Regions from separate parts of the Homo sapiens genome. Here regions 2, 3, 4, 5 and 6 are each linked to region 1. The links are contacts of gene promoters, found by promoter capture Hi-C in human tissues and cell types (Jung and others, 2019). All regions are on one chromosome and are shown on one strand. Each heading gives the region's core, a stretch centred on a gene start or on the middle of the fragment in contact. The rest is flanking DNA. Distances are from core to core; before and after follow the strand shown.

The links. Contacts are between HindIII fragments. The study calls those that stand out against the background at their distance.
Region 2: a fragment that was not itself captured here is called in contact with the fragment with the promoter of ZNF442 in region 1 in 5 of the 25 tissues and cell types used here (heart left ventricle, lymphoblastoid cells, mesenchymal stem cells and 2 more).
Region 3: a fragment that was not itself captured here is called in contact with the fragment with the promoter of ZNF442 in region 1 in 7 of the 25 tissues and cell types used here (H1 embryonic stem cells, IMR-90 fibroblasts, dorsolateral prefrontal cortex and 4 more).
Region 4: a contact is called between a fragment that was not itself captured here and the fragment with the promoter of ZNF442 in region 1, in 3 of the 25 tissues and cell types used here (dorsolateral prefrontal cortex, mesenchymal stem cells and spleen).
Region 5: a fragment that was not itself captured here is called in contact with the fragment with the promoter of ZNF442 in region 1 in 1 of the 25 tissues and cell types used here (mesenchymal stem cells).
Region 6: a contact is called between a fragment that was not itself captured here and the fragment with the promoter of ZNF442 in region 1, in 1 of the 25 tissues and cell types used here (spleen).

Annotation. Positions count from the first base shown.
Region 1 is chr19:12,363,423-12,367,884 of GRCh38, forward strand. It overlaps ZNF442 (zinc finger protein 442), which reads right to left and starts at 2,261. Exons shown (of 6, transcript NM_030824.3): 1 at 2,111-2,261; 2 at 1,380-1,821; 3 at 132-249. The coding sequence starts at 209. RefSeq lists a silencer at 1,795-1,974 and an enhancer at 2,075-2,174. The HindIII fragment of the contact is 16,775 bases long and covers 1-3,266 here.
Region 2 is chr19:12,522,309-12,526,899 of GRCh38, forward strand. It overlaps ZNF564 (zinc finger protein 564), which reads right to left. Exons shown (of 4, transcript NM_144976.4): 4 at 3,065-4,591. The coding sequence ends at 4,138. Among named protein-coding and RNA genes, the nearest start is that of ZNF564, 27 kb to the right of the region's middle. RefSeq lists a silencer at 1-21. The HindIII fragment of the contact is 4,073 bases long and covers 570-4,591 here.
Region 3 is chr19:12,126,293-12,130,565 of GRCh38, forward strand. No RefSeq gene overlaps it. Among named protein-coding and RNA genes, the nearest start is that of ZNF20, 12 kb to the right of the region's middle. The HindIII fragment of the contact is 9,523 bases long and covers 1-4,273 here.
Region 4 is chr19:12,209,138-12,213,684 of GRCh38, forward strand. It overlaps the pseudogene LOC100289333. Among named protein-coding and RNA genes, the nearest start is that of ZNF136, 48 kb to the left of the region's middle. The HindIII fragment of the contact is 4,844 bases long and covers 1-4,502 here.
Region 5 is chr19:12,227,886-12,232,559 of GRCh38, forward strand. It overlaps the pseudogene LOC100289333 and a transcript of ZNF44 not described here. Among named protein-coding and RNA genes, the nearest start is that of ZNF44, 65 kb to the right of the region's middle. RefSeq lists an enhancer at 4,080-4,674. The HindIII fragment of the contact is 3,310 bases long and covers 1-3,263 here.
Region 6 is chr19:12,561,168-12,565,374 of GRCh38, forward strand. It overlaps the pseudogene PGK1P2. Among named protein-coding and RNA genes, the nearest start is that of LINC02926, 12 kb to the left of the region's middle. The HindIII fragment of the contact is 4,912 bases long and covers 1-3,763 here.

The sequences.
Region 1 (4,462 bases), core at 1,011-3,510:
AGTAAAGTGCTCAGTGACCACCCACCACCACCCCAGGAGATACTTCACTGTGTGCTTTTCAGGCTCATGCACACCTGACCTGAATGGGAGGTTCTTGCACAACTGGAATGAGTGGGTTCTCCAGTGCTTACATATTGTTTTCTCTCTTCATTAGTCTGAGAGTCAGGAAGGAAGAGATCACTTCTGTCTTCTCCCCCAAATACAATCATTCAACTGGCTGACCAGCCGTGTGTCCCCAAGGAATGGAAACTGGGGTTGGGGAAGAACAAGGTGATTGTCCCAAGGGTTAGCTTTTTATAGAAATGGTATACCAGAATATTCCTCCCATCCCACCCAGGGCATCCAGCTGTTCTCTGTGAGGCCCCACCCCAACACCTCAGGCTGCTCACTGGGAGAAATGACCCAGGGACTGATATTCACTGGACCCTCCCAGAGACAGGGCAGCTGTGTGTATCTTGGGTCAACCCCAGGCAGTTCTGAAACAGAACCAGGAAAAGGCAGAGAGTGGGCTGAGAACACATCACCCCATAAAGTTTCTAAAGGGGACTTTCAATGTTGATTAGGTATCCGTACCCAGGGGAAAGAAAAGGAGAGACACAAAGGTTTTTTTGTTTGTTTTTTTGTTTTTTACAGTGCAGTGTCAGGTTATTCTCTGCTTCCTCACATGTGAAATGTTCAGGAACACAAATCTTTTAAGAAGCCGGCCGGGCGCGGTGGTCACGCCTGTAATCCCAGCACTTTGGGAGGCCGAGGCGGGCGGATCACCTGAGGTCATGAGTTCGAGATGAGCTTGGCCAACATGGTGAAACCCCGTCGCTACTAAAAATACAAAAAATTAGCCGGGTGTGGTGGTGGGTGCCTGTAATTCCAGCTACTCGGGAGGGTGAGACAGGAGAATTTCTTGAACCCGGGAGGCGGAGGTTGCGGTGAGCCGACATCGCACCATTGCACTCCAGCCTGGGCAACAAGAGCACAACTCCATCTCAAAAAAAAAAAAAAGAAAGAAAGAAAAAAAGAAGCCATCCATTGCTCTCTGAAAACAAAATGAAAATTAAAATACTGGGACTCTGAAATTTAGCACGGGTGGGGCGGAGGAGGGAGGAGTTCATGATGTTGCTGTGAACTGAGGAGGGAAAGTTAGCCTGCGTAAGGCTCTGGAAACCAAGGGAGTTACTACCACCCCTAGGAGGAGTTAGAATGAGGGAACAGGGTAGTGGATTTGAGACCCTGCTACCCCCATCTCTGAAAAACTCGAAGAGGAATCAGTCACCCTGGGAAGAAAAGAAGGGACTGGGGACCCCGCAGACCACAGCTCCTCCCGTGCACAAACCCCACGCAAGAATCTGGATTCTGATTGCAGTTAGATATTAACCAGGTACCCTGAGCCCCACTGCCTCGCGGGGGCCGCCTTCCTGAGAGTCAGGTCACAGAAGACACTGACCGCCGGCTTCTGCATTGTGCCTGGGGATAAGATCTCGGAGAGCTGCTCGAGTTGCCCAAGTTCTTTCTCAGATCTTGAATTCCAACGGAAAGGCTGGCGCCAAGCAGGGTGAAAACCCCACGAGGGAACCCACTCAGCAGGAGAATGCGGTTTCTTCACCTCCCGTCCCAGGATTCGCCTGTCACTTCCCCACCAACCAGCGACCCCACACTTCAGCCGCCCCTGTCCAGACCCCTAAACACCCCCATCCCCAAACCTCTCATGGAGGCGGAACTGGGGTCTTCTCTCCTCTCCCCCTATTAAACTGTTTCTGCTGCAGGCCTTGGAGTCTCGGTGCAGTGACTCGGACCGCGAACCTGTGCCGGTTACAGCCGCACAATCTGGGAAGACGCGGAGCTGTGGGCATGGAGCTGCCCCAGAGAGGGCGCGGGAGCCGGGGCCGCAGTTGCTGCGCAGAAACGGGACAGGACGCCCGGGGTCCCGGCTGCCGGCCCAGCCCCCAGCTCCCACCCCGCGGCCGAGGGGACTGAAGGCCGGCTGGGCCAGGGGAACTCGGGTCCACAGACCCCGCAGTCGCCGCGGGGACGCCCGGGTCCCGCCACAGCCGGTTCTGGCCGGTTCCAACCAGTCCTTCGCCCTGCCCCAGGACGCCGGGCCCCGCACACTCACCATTTCCCGGCTTCCGCGGTGTCCCGTGTTCTCCCCAAGGTTCCCCGCTGCCAGCATAGGACTCAGCGTGACAGTGCCTGCCACTGACCTGCCAGGGCTTCTCTCAGCTACAGAGCCAGGAGCGGGAGCTCAGAGGGGTGTAGAAAGCTCCACCCTCCTCCCGGCAGCGCGCCTGACTGGCAGTTCCCAAGAACTCGCCCCCAACACTGATTGGGTAGAGCTCCAAATTCCGCCCCCCCAGGGAACTGATTGACAGAAGAAGGATCTTACACGGCTGAGTGGAGCGAGATGAAGCGGTTCCAGACACAGCCCTTGATAGGGTGGGCTTCCTCCCTTCGCTGTGACCTGACCCCTCCCAGGGGACATTTGCATTTAAGCGGAATTTCCTGCCTGTACTCAATGGGCTCTTCCTGCTCCTTCTTCCTGGACGGGGACCCACAAGTGTGTGCTGGGAATTCGAGACTCACTGCCCAGTGGAGCCATCCCCTGGCCTCAGAGCGGTAGGGGAGGCCCAGGCCACACAAACCACACTGAAGCAGGAGGGAAGGCCTGGTGTCCTCCAGGGATCAGGAATTTAGGATGAGACTGCTGGCTCCATGGTCAAGCCTTTCTCCCACCTTATCTCCCAATCTACTCATTCTCAGACCAGAAAATAAAAACACATCAACAATGAAATAAAATTGTTAAATGCATGGAAAATCTGGAATTATATGGCAGTAATCTTCTATAAAGGAATCAAAAGAAGGGAAAAGAAAAAACCTGAATTAGTTCAGAGAAATTTCAGCCACAGTTCAGCAGGAAACCCCCTTTCAGGAGGTTAAACATATTTTCAAGCTTAGAAGGCAGATTCTGACTCCTGAAGTTGAGTCCCAGAGTGTGTAACCAGCAGCTTAGCAGCTGAGTCTCAAACCACGTTTTAAACCTTTTTTTTCTTCTTCTTTCCCTTTTCCTCTTTCCCCTCCTGATCTCAAGATAATAACTTCGAGATAAACTGCATAGATGTTACCTCTCATCTTAAAATACAGCCTCAGAATGTGCTGTGAACTTCCACTCCCTTTCCTTTCCCATACTACACTGCCATGCCTTATGCACATTTATTTTTATTTTATTTTTTTGGAGACGGAGTCTCACTCTGTCACCCAGGACAGACTGTAGTGGCTCAATCTTGGCTCACTGCAACCTCCGCCTCCCAAGTTGAAGCAATTCTCCTGCCTCAGCCTCCCGAGTAGCACACTGGACTACAGGTGCACGCTGCCATGCCCAGCTAATTTTTTTGTATTTTAGTAGAGACAGGGTTTCACCATGTTGCCCAGGCTGGTCGTGAACTCCTGAGCTCAGGCAATCCGCCGGCCTCGGCCTCCCAAAGTGTTAGGATTACAGGCGTGAGCCACCACGCCTGGCCTGTGCACATTTATTTACCTAAATACTTATTAAGCACACACCATGCTCTCTTATTTGGTCATATATTTCCTTAGAAGCTTCAGGGGTTGGATCTTGTTAGGTACCAGGCACCTCTGGAATTCTCTTTCCAACAAAAGATTACTTCAAAGACAGAACCCACACCCAGCTGAAGAGTGACTACTATCGGGGAAACCAGCCCCCAATATTTCAACGTAGGTTCTATTTTCCCTAAGTGTCGGCCCATCTGAGAAATTAAGAGAAAGAGTACAAAGAGAAGAATTTTACAGCTGGGCCTCCAGGGGTGACATCACATATCGGCAGGTTCCATGATGCCCACCTGGGCTGCAAAACCAGCAAGTTTTTATTAGGGATTCTAATAGGGGAGGGGGTGTACGAACAGGGAGTAAGTCACAAAGATCACATGCCTCAAAGGGCAATAAAAGATCACAAGGCAAAGGCAAAATTAGAATTACTGATGAGGGTCTGTGTCCTGCTGTGCATGCACTGTCTTGATAAACATCTTAACAGGAAACAGGGTTCGAGAGCAGACAACCAGTCTGACTAGAATTTACCAGGCTGGAACTTCCCAATCCTAGTAAGCCTGAGGGCACTGCAGGAGACCAGGGCGTATTTCAGTCCTTATCTCAACTGCATTAAGACAGATACTCGCAGAGCAGCCATCTATAGACCTACCCCCAGGAATGCATTCCTTCCCCAGGGTCTCAATTATTATTATTATATATATTTTTTTGAGACAGAGTCTCACGCTCTGTCCCCCAGGCTGGAGTGCAGTGGCACAATCTCGGCTCACTGCAACTTCTGCCTCCTGGGTTCACACTGTTCTCCTGCCTAAGCCTCCCAAGTAGCTGGGACTACAGGCGCGTGCCACCATGCCCGGCTAATTTTTTGTATTTTTAGTAGAGAAGGGGTTTCACCGTGTTAGCCAGGATG
Region 2 (4,591 bases), core at 1,356-3,855, 160 kb after region 1:
GTTTGAGACAGGGTCTCACTCTGTCACACAGATTGAAGTGCGGTGGCATGATCTCAGCTCACTGCAATCTCCGCTTCCCAGGTTCAGGCGATTCTCCTGTCTCAGCCTCCCGAGTAGCTGGAATTACAGGCGTGTACCACCACACCCGGCTGATTTTTATATTTTTAATAAGAGACGGGGTTTCACCACGTAGGCCAGGCTGGTCTTGAACTCCTGACCTCAAGCTATCTGCACACCTCGGCCTCCCAAAGTACTGGGATTACAGGCGTGAGCCACTGTGCCTGGGCATAAAGTGTTTCCATTAGCAGTACTCATGTTGCGGTATTATTGTCATCATCATCATTTTCATAAAGTAGAAAGTAAAACTTCTCTCAATGGTACCCATAATTTACACTGAAGATGTAACTATTCCTTGAGAACAAGATAGAACCTGGCCTGGGAAACAGCACTAATGCTTGTAAATTAGTTCTGTGACAACTATTCTGATTTCTTCTATGGTTGCTTATTCTTCCATACCATGTAAGTAAATTCCGTGATTATTAGTTTTGGGTGATTCATGCTTTCCCCACTAGAAAGAACAATTTGGTTTATTACGCTATCTTCCACCCGTTTCTCCAACACCAGTCACTATTTCAGTCAGAGCATGAAGAAAAATAATTTTGGAAATGGAAACCTGATGTTCTGCCATTTAAAGGTACTTCATGAAATCCACTCCAAGAGGGATCACTTGCTTCATTTCCTTGCAGAGTTGTTTTTTGTTTTTTTTTTTTTTTTTGCGATGGGGTCCCACTCTGTCGCCCAGGCTAGAGTGCAGTGGTGCAATCTTGGCTCACTGCAACCTCCGCCTGCTGGGTTCAAGCAATTCTCCTGCCTCAGCCTCCTGAGTAGCTGGGATTACAGGCGTCAGCCACCATGCATGGCTAATTTTTCGTATTTTTAGTAGAGTTGGGGTTTCACCATGATGGCCAGGCTGGTCTCAAACTCCTGACCTCGTGATCCATCCGCCTTACCCTCCCAAAGTGCTGGATTACAGACATGAGCCACTGTGCCTGGCCCATTTATTTCTTTATTGTGCAAGCAGTGACTTATTTATCCACTGCTTTTTTTTTTTTTTTTTTTTGAGATGGAGTCTGGCTCTGTCACCTAGGCTGGAGTGCAGTGGCGTGATCTCAGCTCACTGTAACCTCTGCCTCCCAGGTTCAAGCAATTATCTTGCCTCAGCCTCCCAAGTAGCTGGGATTACAGGTGTGCACCACCACACCCAGCTAATTTTTCTGTTTTTAGTGGAAATAGGGTTTCGCTGTGTTGGCGAGGCTGGTCTCGAACTCCTGGCCTTAAGTGATCTGCCTGCCTCGGACTCCCAAAGTGCTGGGATTACAGACATAAGCCACCACACCAGGCCTGGCTCTCCATTTCTTGAACACCACCTTTACCCCAGGTACAGAATTAGTGGTAAATAGTTACACATTACCTATTACATAAACTTTCCATACCTAAGAAGTTCTCTCCCACCTTTTCTGGACACTATATGCTGCTATTTCTTCTCATATTCTTAAAGATTTCCGAGCAAAGAATTTCTATTTGCTTAAATTATCAGATATATATTTGATATACATGTCTGTGAATAGTGTGCAGAGGAAATTAAAAGTATCCCTCTTCAATAAAGGGAAGTGGTTATCATAGGCCCTGGGTCTGGGAGTGAGGTCCAGGTCTACAGTGAAGGGGGGAGGAGACAGGGAAGTCAATCCTGGGGATCAAATCTAAATGCCTACTAAAATCCAAATGGACTGTGTAGGAACAGGTCCCTCATGGATAGAAAAACGAAAAAAACAGTGCTGAGAACAAGTAGGAAAGAGACCTAGAGACTAGGCGCAGTGGCTCACGCCTGTAACCCCAGCACTATCGGAGGCCGAGGCGGACAGATCACTTGAGATCAGGAGTTCAAGACCAGCCTGGCCAACATGGCGAAATCCCGTTTCTACTAAAAATACAAAAATTAGCTGGGTGTGGTGGTGCGCACCTGTAATCCCAGCTACTCAAGAGGCTGAAGCATGAGAAGCCTTTGAATCTGGGAGGCAGAGGGTGCAGTGAGCCAAGATCTCACCACTGCACTCCAGCTTGGGCGACAGAGCAAGACCCTATCTCAAAAAAAAAAAAGAGAGACCTAGAGTGTCTTGGTATGCTGAAGGTCCCACAAGGTCTATGCAGTACTGTGGTCTTTTCTCCCTTTTTTGTGTGTAAAACATACATAAAATTCACCATCATAATCAATTTTAAGTGTACAGTTCAGTGCCATTAAGAACATTCATACTAGTGTGCAACCATCACCACCATCCACCTCTGGAACCCTTTTTATCTTGCAAAATTGAAACTCTATGCCCATGAAATAACTATCCATTACCCAATTTCCCTAACCTTTGGCAAATGGTATTGTACTTTTTCTATCAATATGACTACTCTAGATACCTGATATAAGTAGAATCATACCGTATTGTCTTTACATGAATGGCCCATTTCACTTAGCACGTCAAGGTTCATCTTGCAGCATATTTGTAAATTTCCTTACTTTGTAAGACTCAGTAATATTCTCTTGTATGTATAAACTTCCTTTTGTTTATTCATCTGTTGATGAAAACCTGAGTAGTTTCCAGAGTTTACCTATTGTGAATGATGCTATGTACACAGGTGTACAAAACCTATTTGAGACTTTGCTTTCAATCTTTTTTGTTTTGTTTTGTTTTTTGAGACGGAGTCTTGCTCTCTCACCCAGGCTGGAGTGCAGTGGCGCGACCTCAGCTCACTGCAAGCTCTGCCTCCCGGGTTCATGCCATTCTCCTGCCTCAGCCTCCCGAGCAGTTGGGACTACAGGCGCCTGCCACCACGCCCGGCTAATTTTTTTTTAGTAGAGACGGGGTTTCATCATGTTAGCCAGGATGGTCTCAATCTCCTGACCTTGTGATCCGCCTGCTTCGGCCTCCCAAAGTGCTGGGATTACAAGCGTGATCCACCACGCCCGGCCCTGCTTTCAATCTTTTTATTTTCCCAGAAATGGAAATGCTGATCATATGTTATTTCTATATTTTAATCTGGGGATCTGCCATACTGTTTTCAGCAGGCTTATACCACTGTACATTCCCAGTGATAGTGCACAATGTTCTCCAACATTCCACATCCTTGACAGTATTTCTTGTTTTCCATCTTTGATACTACTAATCCTAATGAGATGCTATGTATGTCTTGAGTTTGATTTGTATTTCCCTAATGACTAAAGATGTCGAGCATTGTTACGTGCTTATTGGCCATCTGGGTATCTTCTTTGGAGAAATGTCTATTCAAGTCCTTTCCTCCATTTTAAAATTGGATTGTGTCTTAGCTTGGGTTGCTAAAACAAAATACCATAAATTGGAAAGCTTAATTAATCAACAAACATTTATTTCTCATGGTTTGGGAGGCTGGGAAGTCCAATATCAAGGCACTGGCATAGTCCATGTCTGGTAAGGGCCTGCTTCCCGGTTCAAAGATAGCTATCTTCTCACTGCACCCTCTCATGGTGAAGGGCAAAGCTAGCTCTCTAGGGATTCCTATCAGGAAACTAATCCCAATTACAAGGCCTCCATCTTCATGATGTCCTCCAATCCTAAAAACCACCAGAGACAGGGCCTCCAAATACCATCACATTGTGGGGGAGAGGGGGGGCACGGGGGTAAGGTTTCAACATATGAATCTGAGGTGGCATACACTCAGCCAAAACATTACACCTCTGGCCCCCAAAATCCATGTCATCACATGTAAAATATATTCATCTCATCCCAAAGGCCTCAAAAGTCTCAGTTAATTCCAGCATGAAGCCTAATGTTTAAACTCAAACTCCAAAGTGTCATCTCAATATCACATCACTCAGATATGGATGAGACTCAATTCATGCTGAGGCAAAATTCTTCTTCAGCTCCGAACCGGTGAAAACCAAACTAGTCATGTATTTCCAAAATATGAGACAGGCACAGGATAGAGATTCCTATTCCAAAAGTGAGAAACAGGAGAAAGGGGTGAGCTCCCAAACAAGTCTGAAACCCAGAAAGCAAACTGAAGACTTTCCATATTCTTTAGATATGTAGATACTTGTAGACCTGTCCTCCACTATTCATTTTCACAGGTATTCGAAGGTTGTGTGATAAATGAAAGCTTTCCCACATTCTTTACGTAAGGTTTATCTCCATTATGAGCTCTTTCATGTCTTTGAAAGGAACTGGAATAACTGAACGTTTTTCCACATTGCTTACATTCATAGGGTTTTTCTCCGGTATGAGTTCTTTCATGTATTCTAATGGAACTGGCATAATTGAATGCTTTCCCACATTCTTTACATTCATAGGGTTTTTCTCCAGTATGAGTTCTTTCATGTGTTCGGACAGAACTAGGACAGTCAAAGGCTTTACCACATACCTGACATTTATAAGGTCCATCTCCAGTGTGCAGTATCATATGTTTTCTAATCCTTTTAAGAGAAATGAAGGCTTTCCCACATACCTGACATTCATAGGGTTTCTCTCCAGTGTGAGTTCTTTCGTGTATTTGAAATGAACTGGGACAG
Region 3 (4,273 bases), core at 822-3,321, 240 kb before region 1:
GCACCCAGCCTGGTCAGATAACTTCTGAGACAGTTTTGTACTTTTATGAGGGTAGGTAATGTGGGAAATGCATTAGAGCAGCAGTCCCCAACCTTTTTGGCACCAGGGACCAGTTTCGTGGGAGAAAAGTTTTTCACAGAGGAGGGTGGGGAGATGGTTTTTGGATGAAACTGTTTCACCTCAGCTCATCAGGGATTAGTTTCTCATAAGGAGCATGCAACCTAGATCTCTCACATGTGCAGTTCACAATAGGGTTATCAACCCAAGAAAATCTAATACCACTGCTGCTCTGACAGGAGGCAGAGCTTAGGCAGTAACGCTCACTCGCTTCTGCTTACCTCCCGCTGTGTGGCCTAGTTCCTAACAGGCCATGGACAGGTACCCGTCTGTACCCGAGAGTTGGGGACACGTGAATTAGAGGACACTCAGGTGGTGTTCAGTGGAGAATGGATGGCTTGTTTGCTGTGTGAGAAAATCTTCCACATATTTGGTCATAGAGATATTGCATTGTGTGAATGCACAGGAAAAACATTTTGAGTTTTTCCACTCTTAGATCCCTGTGCAATTTTGAGAAATCCAGTCACAACAGTGTGTGGATGTTAATGCCGCCCTTACCACAAGAGGGAGCTTCATTGACGTTGCCTTTCTGGAAAATGGTTCAAAGGACTTTGTTGGAAATTCTACTCTACTCTACTCTACTGTATTTATGTTATGTTATGTTGTTATGTTATGTTATGTTATGTTATGTTATGTTATGTTATGTTATGTTATGTTATTTTAGAGACAAGGTCTTGCTCTGTTGCCCAGGCTGGAGTGCAGTGTTGCAGTCTCAGCTCACTGCAACCTCTGCCTCCCAGGTTCAAGTGATTCTCCTGCTTCAGCCTCCCGAGTAGCTGGGATTACAGGTGGCCACCACCCCAGCCGGCTAATTTTTGTACTTTTAGTAGAGACAGGGTTTCACTATGTTGGCCAGGCTGGTCTAGAACTCCTGACCTCAAGTGATCCGCCCGCCTTGGCCTCCCAAAGTGCTGGGATTATAGGCATAAGCCGCCGTGCCTGGCCCCTGAAATACTTTTTAATATAGGGTGTAAGCCAGGCGCGGTGGCTCACATCTGTAATACAAATACAAATACAAAAATTAACCAGGTGTGGTAGTGCGTGCCTGTAATCCCAGCTACTCGGGAGGCTGAGGCAGGAGAATTGCTTGAACCCAGCAGGTGAAGGTTGCAGTGAGCTGAGATCGCACCACTGCACTCAAGCCTGGCGACAGAGCGAGACTCTGTCTCAAAAAAAAAAAAAGTGTGTAACAGTTGGTGAAAAGGTTCAAAAAAAAAAAGAAAAGAAAAGAAAGGTGACACTTAAATTTACATGACTTTTTTTTTTTTTTTTTTGAGACAGCGTCTTGCTCTGTCACCCAGGCTGGAGTGCAGTGGCACAATCTTGGCTCAATGCAAGCTCTGCCTCCCAGGTTCATGCCATTCTCCTGCCTCAGCCTCCTGAGTAGCTGGGACTACGGGCGCCCGCCACCACGCCCGGCTAATTTTTTGTATTTTTAGTAGAGACAGGGTTTCACCATGTTAGCCAGGATGGTCTCGATCTCCTGACCTCGTGATCTGTCTACCTTGGCCTCCCAAAGTGCTGGGATAACAGGCGTGAGCCACCGCACCCAGCCTACATGACTTAACTTTTTACCTTGTTAAACAGAGAGCAATCAACCCTGTGAACGTTATGTTCCAGATTCTGACAAGTGTGTTGAAAAAATTCTACACACTAAATGAAATAGGAGTAATGGGTGAGAGAGTGTGACCTTGAGTTTCAAGTTGGGGTAAGGGGGGCGGAAAAGAAGACAGTGTCTTGAGGTGGTGACATCTGTAGTGAGATCTGAAATGACGTGTTAGTATATGAAGTCAGGAAAGAGGATTCTGGGAAGATGGCAGAATAGGAAGTATCAAGCAGAAACTACAGGAAGCCATTTTTGTGAACTGAGTTCCTCTGCTGGGCCCTCAGAAACCAGACCTACCCCAGCGATTAGGAAATTACACCTAGGCAATCGTCATTGCCCCACACGCTACAAAGAACGTTCAGTAGACAATGGCTTGAGAAATGCGCCCAGTCCAATCTTTGGGTAAGCCAGGTGCAGAGATGTACAAAAAGACTGTCCTTGGCAAAGTTCTATGGTCACATGATGTTTGAGGCAGTTCTGCATATCATATGAGGGCCTTATTGGAGTTCTTGTGTATCTCTGCCAAGAGAGTACTGCACAGCAGAGGTCATTATTGCAACTTCCGTGCCATTTATTTATTTTGAGACAGAGTCTTGCTCTTTTGCCAGGCTGAAGTGCAGTGGCACGATCTCAGCTCACTGCAGTCTCTGCCTCCCGGGTTCAAGGGATTCCTCTGCCTCAGCCTCCTGAGTAGCTGGGACTATAGGAGCCCGCCACCACGCCCGGCTAATTTTTTGTATTTTAGTAGAGACAGGTTTCACCATGTTGGCCAGAATGGTCTCAATCTCCTGACTTCATGATCCGCCCGCCTCGGCCTCCCAAAGTGCCGGGATTACAGGCATGAGCCACTGCACCCAGCCACTTCTGTGCCATTTAATTGTTCACCAGTTGCCACAGGTCTATCTGTGTACACCTGAGTTGCTTGAGTGGTTCTAAACAAATGAATTTAACTTTCATTGTGGTGTTGAATTTTTGTATATACCTTTTATGAATTATTTTGACCGTGGGCTGACCAATATCATGAGTAAAAGATTTAAAAGGTCTAGAGGAGCCAGGCATGTTGGCTCATGCCTATAATCCCAGCACTTTGGGAGGCCGAGGCAGATGGATCGCTTGAGGCCAGGAGTTTAGAGACCAGTCTGGCCAACATGGTGAAACTCCAATTCTACAAAAAACACAAAAATTAACTGGGCATGGTGGTGTTCGCCTGTAGTGCCAGCTACTTGGGAGGTTGTGACGAGACTTGCTTGAACCTGGGAAGCAGAGGTTGCAGTGAGCTGAGATCGTGCCACTGCAATTCAGCCTAGGCAACAGAGCGACACTCTGTCTCAAAAAAAAAAAAAAAAAAGCCATAGGTAGGAAGCAAAATGTAAATAATGAGAAAAATATATATCTTAAGTTCACATTTGAAATATGTAAGAAAATTTGGTGATGCTGCAAATAAACTGAGGATTGTAATTATATAAATTACAAGTTTTTCCTGAGAAAAAACACATTTTCAACCTAAGTACATTGATCTTAAAGGATTTTTCCTTTGCTTTTTGACCTTGCTTTGTGAAAAAGTGCAAAAATAAGACATGAATAGTCAAAATAAGAATTTTTGGGCCAGGCGTGGTGGCTCACACTTATAATCCCAGCACTTTGGGAGGCCGAGGTGGGCGGATCACGAGGCCAGGAGATCGAGACCATCCTGGCTAACATGGTGAAACCCTGTCTCTACTAAAAAAAAAAATACAAAAAAATAGCCAGGCGTGGTGGCGGGCACCTGTAGTCCCAGCTACTCGGGAAGCTGAGGCAGGAGAATGGCGTGAACCAGGGAGGCGGAGGCTTGCAGTGAGCCGAGATCGCGCCACTGCCCTCCAGCCTGGGCAACAGAGCAAGACTCCATCTCAAAAAAAAAAAAAGGAATTTTTGGCCAGGCATGGTGGCTCACACCTGTAATCCTGGCACTTTGGGAGGCCGAGGCAGGTGGATCACATGAGGTCAGGAGTTTGAGACCAGCCTGGCCAACATGGTGAAACCCTGTCTACTAAAAATACAAAAAAATAGCCAGGCATGGTGGCAGGTGCCTGTAATTCCAGCTACTTGGGAGGCTGAGGCAGGAGAATCACTTGACCCCAGGAGGCAGAGGTTGCGGTGAGCCAAGATTGCACCACTGTCCTCCAGACTCTGTCTCCAAAAAAAAAAAATTCATATCTCACAAATCAAGGTATTTTCCATATGTCATCACACATAGTTAAGGTTTGGTCAGTCAGTGATTGCTTCTATGTCTGCTGGGACTGGGATTTTTACTCTAGGGAGACTGAAATAAGCTTTTGTGAAGAGAAGCACCCATGACACCTTAAAGGAAATGATCGGATTGTTCCATGCATGACTTTTCCACGATGTCATTAGCTTCATAATATTAGCATAAGAGGGTTCCTGACAAGTTTGCATCAACAGCATGTTACCAGAGAAAGAAAGACTTGATTGGAATAGTGATGCTGACTTTGTTCTTTACTGGGCAGGAAATTCAGTTTTCAAAAACATATTGGCCCCATAGGACTCAAG
Region 4 (4,547 bases), core at 831-3,330, 150 kb before region 1:
AATACATGAAAGAAGTCATAGTGGAGAGAAACCCCACGTATGTAAACGATGTGGTAAAGCCTTCATTTGGCACAATTCCTTTTGAATACATGAAAGAACCCACACTGGAGAGAAACCCTATGTATGCAAGCAGTGTGGCAAAGCTTTCATTTATTGTACAACTTTTCAAGGACACATGAGAATGCACACTGGAGAGAAGCCCTATAAAGTGTAAAGAATGTGGAAAAGCCTTCAGTCATCCCAGTTCATTTAGAAGCCATGAAAAAATACACCCTGGCAGAAAACTTCTTGAATGTAAGTAAAGTGGGAGTTTTCAACTTGCCCACCTCCTTACAAAAACATGCAATAAGAATGTGCTAGATATAAAGCTTACAAATGTGAGAAATACAGGAAGTTTTTCAGTTTTAACAAATACTGTCAAAGTCATGTGAAAATTCTCACTAGAAAGAAATCCAATAAAGGCAAGTTGAGGCATACCTGTTTGTTATTCAGGAATTTGCTATAAGGTTATACTGGGGGAGGGGGTGCCATGTTTAAATTCAATGGTATCTTAAGGTAAAACTGTAATTTAAGCCCCAGTATTGATTAAGGACATGGAAATTTGCCAACTGATGCATTTCAACGGATGTTGAAGTTAATTCGGAGCCTGTTTTGTAGAGGTGTGAAACCCAGTCAGCACCCATTTATTTTTTTGCTGTTATTTTAATAAACTTTGGATTTCTAATTTGATCAAATTATGGACCTTTGTCTCAATTTTTTTCTTTTTTCTTTTGGTGATTGCAGGGTGAGGGAGAGGGGTGTTCTGTGTACCCTACTTATATTTATATCCTTCATTCTCTAGAGAGCCTCAAGTCAGTGTCATCATGGTTATGGGCCTCCCTCATGGCAGTGGTTGCTTTAGAGGGTTTCAGGACTGTGGGCTTAAGTCTGATTTAAATTAAGGGTATCTCTCTGAAGTCTCTATTCTATTCCTTTGCTCTGTTTTTTTTTTTTTGTCTTTCTTTCTTGAGACGGAGTCTCGCACTGTCACCCAGGCTGGAGCGCAGTGGCGCGATCTTGGCTCACTGCAACCTCCGCCTCCCAGGTTCAAGCGATTCTCCTTGCCTCAGCCTGAGATTACAGGTGCCCGCCACCACGCCCGGCTAATTTTTTTGCAGTTTTAATAGAGACGGGGTTTCACTATGTTGGCCAGGCTGGTCTTGAACTCCTGACCTAATGATCTGCCCACCTTGGCCTCCCAAAGTGATGGGATTACAGGCGTGAGCCACCACACCCGGCCTCCATTGCTCTATATATCTGCCTTTATGTCATGTCAACACCACACTATTTTGATTACTGAAACTTAGAGTAAGTTTTGAAACTAGGAAGAGTGAGGCTTCCAGCTTTGTTGTTCTCTTTTTCTTTTCTTTTCTTTTTTTTTTTTTTTTTTTTTTGAGACAGAGTTTTGCTCTTGTTACACAGCCTGGACTGCAGTGGTGTGATCTCGGGTCACTGCAACCTCTGCCTCCCAAGTTCAATCTATTCTCCTGCCTTAGCCTCCTGAGTAGCTGGGATTACAGGCATGTGCCACCACACCCAGCTAATTTTGTGTGTGTGCAATGGCTCGATCTCGGCTCACTGCAACCTCCGCCTCCCTGGTTCAAGCGATTTTCCTGCCTCAGCCTCCCGAGTAGCTGGGATTACAAGCATGGGCCACCATGCCCGGCTTATTTTTTTGTATTTTTAGTAGAGATGGGGTTTCTCCTTGTTGGTAAGGCTGGTCTCGAACTCCCGACCTCAGGTGATCTGCCTGCCTCAGCCTCCCAAAGTGCTAGGATTACAGGCATGAGCCTCCGTGCCCAGCCAAAACTTAGAGTAAGTTTTGAAACTAGGAAGAGTGAGGCTTCCAGCTTTGTTGTTGTTTTTCTTTTTTTTTTTGAGACGGAGTTTTGCTCTTGTTGCACAGGCTGGAGTGCAGTGGTGTGATCTCGGGTCACTGCAACCTCCGCCTCCCAGGTTCAATCGATTCTCCTGCCTCAGCCTCCTGAGTAGCTGGGATTACAGGCATATGCCACCACACCCAACTAATTTTTTGTGTTTTTAGTAGAGACGAGGTTTCATCATGTTGGCCAGGCTGGTCTCGAACTCCTGACCTCAGGTGATCCACCCACCTTGGCTTCCCAAAGTCCAGGGATTACAGGCGTGAGTCACCATGTCCAGCCTGTTGTTCTTTTTCAAGATTGTTTTGGCTATTTGGGGTCCTTTGAGATTCCCTGTGAATTTTAGGATGAGTGTTTCTGTTTCCAGAAAAAAATGTCATGGGCCTTTTGATAATGATTGCTTTGAATTTGTAGAGCATTTGCAGTAATATATTGACACCTTAACAAAATTAAGTCTTTTAAATTATGAACACAGAATGTCTTTCCATTTATTTATAGCTTTAATTTCTTTCAGTAACGTTTTATAGTTTTCAGTATACAAGTCTTTTGCTTTTTTGGTTAATTTTTTGTCATGGCGTTTTGCTGCGTTGTCCAGGTTAGTCTCAAACTCCTGGGCTCAAGCTGTTCTCCCATCTTAGGATCTTCAGTAGCTAGGACTGCATGTCTGTGTCACTATAGCTAGCTGTTTTTTTGTTTTTGTTTTTGTTTTGAGACAGGGTCTCATTCTGTCACTGCACTGTAGTGCAGTGGTGAAATCATGGCTCACTGCAGTCTCAACCTCCTGGGCTTAAGTGGTCCTCCCATCTCAGCCTCCCAGTAGCTGGGAGTACAGGCACAGGCCAGCACGTCCAGCCAATTTTTTTTTTTTTTTTTTTTGTAGTATGAGGTCTCACTTTGTTGCTCAGGCTTGTCTTGAACTTCTGGGTTCAAGTGATCCTCCCACCTTGGGCCTTCCAAAGTGCTGATTTTGCAGGTGTGAGCCACTGTGCTTGGCCTGTTTTATTCTTTTTGATGTTATTACTAATGTAATTGTTTTCTTAATTTCCTTTTCAGATTATTAACTGTTAGTGTATTGAAATGTAATTTTAGGCTGGGTGCAGTAGCTCACACCTGTAATTCCAGCACTTTGGGAGGCTGAGGCGGGTGGATCATGAGGTCAGGGGTTTGAGACCAGCCTGACCAACATGGTGAAACCCCGTCTGTACTAAAAAATATAAAAATTATCCGGGCCTGGTGGTGGGCAGCTATAATCCCAGCTACTCAGGAGGCTGAGGCAGGAGAATCGCTTGAACCTGGGAGGTGGAGGTTGCAGTGAGCCAAGATCGCACCATTGCACTCCAGCCTGGGCAACAGAGCGAGACTCCGTCTCAAAAAAAAAATGTAATTTTAAATGTTAATTTTGTACCCTGCAACTTTGCTGAATTCATTTATGAGTTCAGTTTTTGTGTACATATATGTGTATGTAATCTTTAGGATTTTCTACACATAGGATTATGTCATCTGCCAACATAATTTTATTTCTTCCTTGCCCATTTGGATGCCTTTTGTTTTTCTTTTTTTTTTTTTTCTGAGACAGAGTCTCACTGAGCCACCCAGGCTGGAGTGCAGTGGTGCAGTCTTGGCTCACTGCAACCACCGTCTCCCGGGTTCAAGCAATTCTCCCGTCTCAGCCTCCCGAGTACCTGGGATTACAGGCACCCGCCATCATGCCCAGGTAATTTTTGTATTTTAGTAGAGACGGGTTTTCATCATGTTGGACAGGCTGATCTTGAACTCCTGGCCTCAGGTGATCCACCCGCCTCAGCCTCCTAAAGTGCTAGGATTACAGGCGTGAACCACTGCGCCCAACTGGATGCCTTTTCTTTTTCTTACCTAATTACTCTGACTAGCTCTTCCAGTACTATATTGAATGGAAGTGGTGAAAGCAGTTATCCTATCTTGTTTCTGATCTTAGGGGAAAAGATCACCATGTTTATATTTCACCATTAAGTATGATAGTCTTGTAGATTCTTCATATATGGCCTATTACATTGACCTAGTTTCCTCCCATTCCTAGTTTGTTGTTTATCATCAACGGGTCTTGAATTTTGTCAGATGCCTTTTGTGTATCAATTGAGATTACTGTGATTTTTCCGTCATTCGGCTAATGTGGTATATTATATTGACCGATTTTCATAGGATGCACTGTTTGCATTCTGGAGATAAATCTCACTTGATCATGGTTTAGAAGTTTTTAAAAAATACAGATGTAGTCTTGCTCTGTTGCCCAGGCTGGAGTGCAGTGGCATGATCATAACTCACTGTAGTCTCCAAACTCCTGGGCTCAAGCAATCCTCCCACCTCAGCTTCCCAAGTAGCTGGGACTACAGGTGCATGCCACCACACCTGGCTGATTTTTGTATATTTTGTAGACACAGGGTCTTGCTATGTTGCTTTTCATATGCCTGTTTGCCATTTGTATGTCTTCTTTTGAGAAATGTCTATTCAAATCCTTTGCCTATTTTTTGACCAGATTATTAGATTTTCTTCCTATAGAGTTGTTTGGGCTCTGTATATATTGTGGTTATTAACCCCTTGTCAGAGAGGTAGTTTGCAAATAAATATTTTCTCCCACTCGGTGGGTTGTAT
Region 5 (4,674 bases), core at 359-2,858, 140 kb before region 1:
TGTGCTATGAATATTAAACTCCATTTTTAATAAAACCTTGTAGATGCATTTACTCAATTTTAATGTTTGACCATAAGGTAAGATTTTTATAGACCCTTTTTAACCCTTTATAATTTTTGTTAAAAAGCAGGTTAGTGCTTAAGAGAAACCCGTTGTGTTTTTATTTTAATGCTCAATTTACAGAAAAACTAGATGCTACCCCTTCAACTTTAGCCAATATGTTTACACAGAATTTCCTTTACAATTAACCTGCCAAAACGTGCTTAAACCTTCAAAACAATTGTTTAACTTAACTTTTTTAAACCTTCAAAACAATTGTTTAACTTTTTAATGTAGGTAAAAATCCACATTCTCATGCCTCCTTATAATCTTTTTACCAAAAGTGTATTTTACTTTCCTTACACACTTTCCACATAATTAACTTTCAGTAAAGTTTACTTTTGTTGAAAACCTTGGTAAGTTTGGGATTTTAATTATGTACTAGGTGTAGAGCCTAGGACCTAGACTTCTGTGCAGATAAGGTCTGGCTTAGTCCAGCATTTAATTCCGTGTGTCCTAGGTTTTACCTAGCTGCAAAGCAGGCAAGTTGTACAGGTAAGAGTTATAGGGGCATTTTATAAAGCAGTCAGGAGGCCTAATCACTTTTAAATTGTACATTTCTTGCATAAATTCCATTTATAAAATTTTTCATGCCTTTCACAGTCTGACATGCCTCAACTTTCTGACTTGTTGTAAACATCTCTCTCTTTAAACAACCAGTTAATTTACTTTAGTACAAAAATTTACCATATAAAATTTTTAAATATAAATTATCTTTTAATATAAAAGATACCAGTCCTTTCCCAAAACAAACTTCCTTCATGCCTGTGGACTAGACTGCCTAAGTCCATAAGATTAGAAGTTAGGATATTAAATGGCTTAGGATGTAGCTATTTTCATTAAACCAATATTAATGTTTCACTTATTAAAAAATTATACAAAGATTATTTTGTTTGGGCTGAGTCATAGTTTTGTTTGTTTTGATACCTTATAGTATTTGGCAGAGATAAGAATGAAATTGCTTGATTAATAAATGCAAACAAAAACATATGCTGGTAACTCTTAAGACAGTTCTAACTTTACTGTACCAGTAAGTTTTAAAGATTAAAGTCATGTGAACTGAAAGATCCCACAGCTTTTACTTTTCCCTTAAAAATATTTGATTTAAGCACTTATTTTTTTTGCCAATTATAATTAGAGTTCCTTTAATAGACATTGCACACATAACACATATATAACCACACAGACAACCAGAAGAAGATTCAGTAGTTACAATATTTTTTTTCTCCTAATTTCCCAATTGGCTTATTGGCCTTTGGGTGGTGCCCTTTAAGAACAGGGCTAGGAAAACAGTTTCCAGGGCCTAATAAACAAGTAGAGCTGGAAGACAAAGATTTTGAGAGGTACTTATTCACCTTTAATTCCAGGGGTTCCATAAGGAAAACAGATTTTTCCCAAAATGGGATTTGTGGTGCCTTTTCTGTTTTCCCAAGGGATCCCAGGCCACCAGAAACCGTTTTAGGATTTTATACATGCACCAAGAGTGGCAAGACAGAGTGGAAAAAAGTAATTCAGTTAACTGGGAAAAAACCTTTTCCAGGAAAACAAGATCTATGAAGAGAAGCCTTTTGAATATACTCATAGCTTGGAGGAGGGAAAGACCTGGAGAGGGTTTTCATTAGGAAGAAAGATATTTTTTTTTTTTTTGAGACTTTGTCTTGCTCTGTCACCCAGGCTGGAGTGTAGTGGCGTGATCTCTGCTCACTGCAAGCTCTGCCTCCCAGGTTCACGCCATTCTTCTGCCTCAGCCTCCCAAGTACTGGGACTACAGGTGCCCGCCAGCACACCCGGCTAATTTTTTGTATTTTTAGTAGAGATGGAGTTTCACCGTGTTAGCCAGGATGGTCTCGATCTCCTGACATCGTGATCAGCCCGCCTCAGCCTCCCAAAGTGCTGGGATTATAGACGTGAGCCACCACGCTCAGCCAGGAAGAAAGATTTAGGAAGAAAGATTTTATGAGAGGTGCAAACTTGACACAGGGAGCGTTGGGATTTAAAGTAGAAGCAGAAAGCCTGAATATAGAGAACCTCTTGCCATTTGCTGTTCTTGGTTATAAAGTTGTTAAGGTTCCTGAGAATTTGCAAGCTAAAGGTGCCATTTTTGGGCCATCAGCTGTCATTATCTAATGTGTATTGGGGCCAGGCCATGTTACAATAAAAGACTACATGCTTAAGCCAAGTTTGGCGAGGTTGTGAAGGAGACAGCACAGTGGAGAGGGTGTGGGAATGTGGGATTGTTTGGCACCCATGTGGACTGGCAAGAAGAAGCCGAGGGTGTCTGTTTTTGTTCTAGGCGTCCCCAGACAAAAGACAGAGACCTGGAGTTCTCTTTCTAAAGAGGATGGTCAAGCTGAGAAGAAACTGGGCATCCCCAAGATTTCCTCTAGCTTAGTCCCACTGGTCCTCTGAGGACCGAGATGGCAGACCTGACTTTTTCCAGATACCATGAGAAAGCCAGGGGAGGGCAGATCTTACCAGTCAGCTGGATTAGTGTCTGATGTTAACGTTCCAGTTGGCCTCTTGGGCTGCAGCTGCACAAGGGAGAGAGAGAAAAGGGAGGATTAGAGAAAAGTGAACTGAATAAAAAGACAACGAGTGGTGGCCAGAGACCTCCAGGATCCAGGAATTAACTCAGGACAAGCTGCTGTTGCCCACTGCTTCCTGGGTTGCAGGAGAGCCTCTGCCCCCAGCACCCATCCTGGGTTTCGGCACCAAATGTAAGAGTTAGAGGAAAGAAACACGAAATGCAGCTTGACAGTCAAAGACAGGTTTATTTTAGAAAAAACCTGAGAGGGGCTTCTGGCTGATTTCTGTCAGAAGTGCTTTCTCTTACAGACTAAGAGTGTATATTGGTTTTAGGGTGAGGGGGCTTATTACAAGCTTGGAATGTTTCTGTGTAGGGGAGAAGTTTATGGGGGCGTTGGAATGTCTCTGGGCAGAGGTGGATTATCTTGGGGCTAGCATGTCTCTGGTCTGGGAGGAGTTGGAATGTTTCTGGTTGGAGATGTTATTTGTGGTTTATGATCATGCTGACTTAGCCATTAGGCTGATGCCCTTTGGATTTAGGCAGTTTTTGATTAAGGTGACTTTTAAAATGAGGTGCTTGTCCACGATGGTGATGCTTCTACTCGGTCACCCAGCCTCTAGTCAAAGGCTTTTTTCCAGGAAGGGCAGAACTTCAGCTTTTCTCATCTTACCTCCACCTACCCATTACTGAGGTTATGTCCTGTGTGGGTATGTTTGAAAAGTGGGGACATGGTTTGTGAGTATGGTGCACTCAGACTACTAGGACACTGATCAACTTTGCCTCAGCTCGTAGAGGTGGTGGATCCATGCCAGGACACAGGCCAAGAGGACATCAGGCTGCTGTCCCTCCCCGCCACTGAACACTCAGTTCCTAAAGAGAGAGGATTACTCAGAAAGCAGCTTGCCAACGCTCCTACCCAAGCTTCAGAGCCCTGTCAGATTTTGCCTTGAGGTGGAAGAGAAGCAAGCTGTGAAACACATAGCTCCTAACCTCTTGCCTAAGAATTAACTTCAATTGCAACAGATCATGAGACATTTAAGTCAAAGGGCACTCCATCCTTGATGCAGTGGAAATGGGGAAATGGAGGTGAAAGACAATTCACAGGAGATTTGTGGATTTAATGAAGATACTGCCTGCACTGTAGGCCAGCTAATTTGTGGACAAAACCAGGAAAAAAACACTGTTAGGAGGAGTCCATTAAGCATCTAAACAAACAACTATTAAACGCTGATCTCAGATAGTATTGTTAGAAAGGAGAGAAAACATATTTGGATTTACAGGGCAAATTTGTCCCTGGACTTTTTTGAGAACAATAGAGCTATCTGAAGGGGTGGGTTGCCCCTCCACACCTGTGGGTGTTTCTCGTTAGGTGGAACAAGAGACTTGGAAAAGAAAAAGACACAAAGTATAGAGAAAGAAATAGGGAGACCCAGGGAACCAGAGTTCAGCATATGGAGGATCCCGCCAGCCTCTGAGTTCCCTTAGTATTTATTGATCATTTGTGGGTGTTTCTCCAAGAGGGGGATGTGTCAGCGTCACAAGACAATAGTGGGGAGAGGGTCAGCAGACAAATACGTGAACAAAGGTCTTTGCATCATAGTAAAGAATCAAGTGCTGTGCTTTTAGATATGCATACACATAAACATCTCAATGCTTTACAAAGCAGTATTGCTGCCCGCATGTCCCACCTCCAGCCTTAAGGCGGTTTTTCCCTATCTCAGTAGCTAGAACGTACAATCGGGTTTTATACCGAGACATTCCATTGCCCAGGGACAGGCAGGAGACAGATGCCTTCCTCTTGTCTCAACTGCAAGAGGCATGCCTTCCTCTTTTACTAATCCTCCTCAGCACAGACCCTTTACGGGTGTCGGGCTGGGGGACAGTCAGGTCTTTCCCTTCCCACGAGGCCATATTTCAGACTATCACATGGGGAGAAACCTTGGACAATACCTGGCTTTCCTAGGCAGAGGTCCCTGCGGCCTTCCGCAGTGTTTGTGTCCCTGGGTACTTGAGATTAGGGAGTGGTGATGACTCTTAACGAGCATGCT
Region 6 (4,207 bases), core at 58-2,557, 200 kb after region 1:
CCACTTGGCATTAGCTAAAACTTTCCATGTCAAGATTCAGCTAGTGGCCAAGAGATGCAGTGCCGGGAACCCTTAAATGGTTACACAGAATCTCAGCTCATCTCTACTGCAAAAATTCAAAAAGTGAGGTGAGAGGATCGCTTGATCCTGGGAGGTTGAGGCTGCAATGAGCCATAATCTTGCCACTGCACTACCTGGGAGTGACACCCTGTCTCGAAACAACAACAACAACAACAACAAACTGGCACTCCACATTCAAAGGGAAGAGAATTAAACTCCATTTAAAGGGACTAAACGTTTCTGTCTCCCACCTCCAATAAATTAATATAATAAATCCCTACTCTCCAGTGTGCTGGTATTTGCAGATGGGGCCTCTGGGAGATAATTGGTGAGGTCTTGAGGGTGGGGCACGCATGATGGAATGAGTTACCTTATAAGAAGAGACACCAGGGCCGGGCGCGGTGGCTCCCGCCTGTAATCCCAGCACTTTGGGAGGCCGAGGTGGGTGGATCATGAGGTCAGGAGATCGAGACCATTGTGGCTAACACTGTGAAACCCCATCTCTACTAAAACTACAAAAAATTAGCCGGGCATGGTGGCGGGCACCTGTAGTCCCAGCTACTTGGGAGGCTGAGGCAGGAGAGTGGCGTGAACCCAGGAGGCGGAGCTTGCAGTAAGCCGAGATCGCGCCACTGCACTCCAGCCTGGGCCACAGAGTAAGACTCTGTCTCAAAAAAAAAAAAAGAAGAGACACCAGGCTGGGCGTGGTGGCTCACACCTGTAATCCCAGCACTTTGGGAAGCTGAGGCAGGAGGATCCTTTGAGCCCAAGAGTTTGAGGTTGCAGTGAGCTATGATTGTGCCACAGCACTCCAGCCTGCGTGACAAAGCGAGACCCTGTCTCAATAATAATAATAATAGGCTGAGTGTAGTGGTTCACACCTGTAATCCCAGCATTTTGGGAGGCCTAGGTGGGCGGATCACCTGAGAACAGGAGTTCGAGACAGTCTGGCCAAAATGGTGAAACCCCATCTCTACTAAAGATACAAAAATTAGCCGGGCATGGTGGTGGGCACCTGTAATCCCAGCTACTTCGGAGGCTGAGACAGGAGAATCACTTGACCTCAGGAGGCAGAGGTTGCAGTGAGCCAAGATCGCACCACTGCACTTCATCCTGGACGACAGAGTGAGACTCTGTCTCAAATAATACTACTACTAATAAATAATAATAATAATGAAAAAACACCAGAGACCTCTCTTTCTCTCTGTCTTTCTCTCTGTCACCCCTATGCCCTCTTCCCAACTTGAGGACACAACCAGAAAGTAGCCATCTTTGAGCCAGGAAGAAAGCCCTCACCAAGAACAGAATCTACTGTCATTTTGACCTTGGACTTCATGGTGTCAAGAATCGTATTTTGTTATTGTATTTTGTTATTTTGTAATCGTATTGTATTTTGTTATAGTGGCTCAAGTAGAGTAAAAGACAGAAATGGCAAGAAAGTTAAACCCATCCCACTAGAGGTTTGTCATGGAGGGGACAGAGCGTTGGGTTTAGGCCTGAGCTTTGGAGTTGGAAAGAATTGAGTTCATACTTAGGCGGGGACCTTGAACAAGTCCCTTGAGTTCTCTAAACCTCAATAGCCCCTTCTGTAAAACGAAGATAATAAAGTTGTTGTGAGTGCACCTTGAAACTGCAAGACACATGTCTTAGCACCAGGTAGGCACTCAATAAATAGAGGTAGTGCTATTCTTTTTATTAATGTCTTTCTAGTTGGTCATGCTAATGATATAGTGGGACAGGCAGAACTGGGTCTTCAAGACTTCAGGTGCCAGGCTGAGGAGCTTGGACTTGCACTTGAGAGCACTAGGGAGCCATGGGAGGTGTGTGAGCAGGGAAGAGAGAGAAAAATGTCCCTTTGGTGCCGAGGTGAATGACTAGGAATTGAAGTTTGGGAGACCAAGGAGGACACTTTGACAGGTACCCAGGTGAGTGTCTAGACCTGGGTGGTGGCAATTGGGATGATGGGAGTGAGAAGAAATAAGTAGGTCAGGCTTGGTGGCTCATGCCTGTAATCCCAGCACTTTGGGAGGCCAAGGTGGGTGGATAACCTGCGGTCAGGAATTCAAGACCAGCCTGGCCAACATGGTGAAACCCTGTCTCTACTAAAAATACAAAAATTACCCAGGTGGGGCCAGGTGCAGTGGCTCACGCCTGTAATCCCAGCACTTTGGGAGGCCGAGGCGGGCAGATCACAAGGTCAGGAGTTCAAGACTGGGCTGACCGACATGGTGAAACTCTTGTCTCTACTAAAAATACAAAAATTAGCCAGGCGTGGTGGTGCGTGTCTGTAATCCCAGCTACTCGGGAGGCTGAGGCAGGAGAATTGTTTCAACCCGGGAAGTGGAGGTTGCAGTGAGCCGAGATCATGCTACTGCACTCCAGCCTGGGCAACAAGAGTGAAACTCTGTCTCAGAAAAAGAAAAAAAAAATTATCCAGGCATGGTGGCAGGTACCTGTAATCACAGCTGCCAGGGAGGCTGAGGCAGGAGAATCACATGAACCCGGGAGGTGAAGGTTGCAGTGAGCCGAGATCGCGCTACTGCACTCCAGCCTGGGTGACAGAGTGAGACTCCGTCTCAAAATAATAATAATAATAATAAATAAATAAATACATAAATAAGTAGTTAAGTAGTTCAAGATGAGTATTGGGTATAGGGCTTGAATGGTAGCTCCACGACCCAGGTCGGAAGTAGCAGTTAAGAGGGGTTGGGGTCGGGGTATCAATGTCAGTTTTCACTTTGCCTAGAATATTTTTTCTTGTTGTGTCTTCCTGAAATATTCTTACTGGTCTTTGGAGACACTGCCCAAAGATCCCTCCTCTGAGAATCTCCCTGGAACATGTGTGGTCCTGCAAAGCTGCTGCTCATGATGTTATCCTACAAACATCCAAATCCCGGCATATGAGTTTCTCTAGGGCAGTCTCTGGCTGGTTCCATTGTAGGATCTGTCCACGCCCTGCATATGCCTGGTACCAAAAAAGGAAACTGGGTCTGCAGGACGTTGCTGCAGTTCAGGCATTGGCCGCGTGGGGGCAGAAGTGCACAGGTCAAAGCGTCTGGAAAAAGCCCTCAGGCTGCAGGACCAGCAGAGCATCACCAAGGACGTCCCTGGTTGAGAACTACGTCTTTTTATTCGTTTTAAAGGGGCGCATAGGCACTAGGATCCAGTTTTGTCCACCTAACCCACCCACCCAGCGACACACGCCCCGCAGCCCATAGCTGGAGGATATTTACGCAAAACCTAAATCAGATCAGTCTTTCCTTTGCTCAGAACATTTTTTTTTTTTGAGGGACGGAGTCTTGCTCTGTCGCCCAGACTGGAGTGCAATGGTGCAATCTCGGCTTACTACAACCTCCACCTCCCAGGTTCATGTAACTCTCCTGCCTCAGCCTCCCGAATAGCTGGGATTACAGATGTGAGCCACCACGCCCAGCTAGTTTTTGTATTTTTAATAGAGACGGGGTTTCACCACGTTGGTCGGGCTGGTCTCGAACTCCTGACCTCAAGTGATCCACCCGCCTCGGCCTCCCAAAGTGCCGGGATTACAGGCATGAGCCATCGCGCCCAGCCTGCTCAGAACCATTTGTGGCTCCCACTTAACCCAGTGGGAGTGCTGAAATAACTTAAACATTTTACATGGCATTTACAAATGCGATATTTTATTCTTTAATCCTTTAAAATCTCTCCATCAATAAAACTCTTCAGAAGTCCTTACCAGTTGTTACAAATCTAAAATATAAATATACAAATAAGTGGTAATGTATGTTCTCTCAAACATTCTGACACTACTTCTACACTCAACCAAATTGTGATATACTTTTCCATTTAAAATTACCAGTCTTGGCCGGACGTGGTGGCTCACGCCTGTAATCCCAGTACTTTGGGAGGCCAAGGCGGGTGGATCAACTGAGGTCAGGAGTTCAAGACCAGCCTGGCCAACATGATGAAACCCCATCTCTACTAAAAATACAAAAAAGTTAGCCAGGTGTGGTGGCCGGTGCCTGTAATCTCAGTTACTTGGGAGGGTGAGGCAGGAGAATCGCTTGAGCCTGGGAGGCAGAGGTTGCGGTGAGCCGAGATCAAGCCATTACACTCCAGCCTGGGCAACAAAGCAAAACTCTGTCTTTTTTTTTTTTTTTTTTAAAGG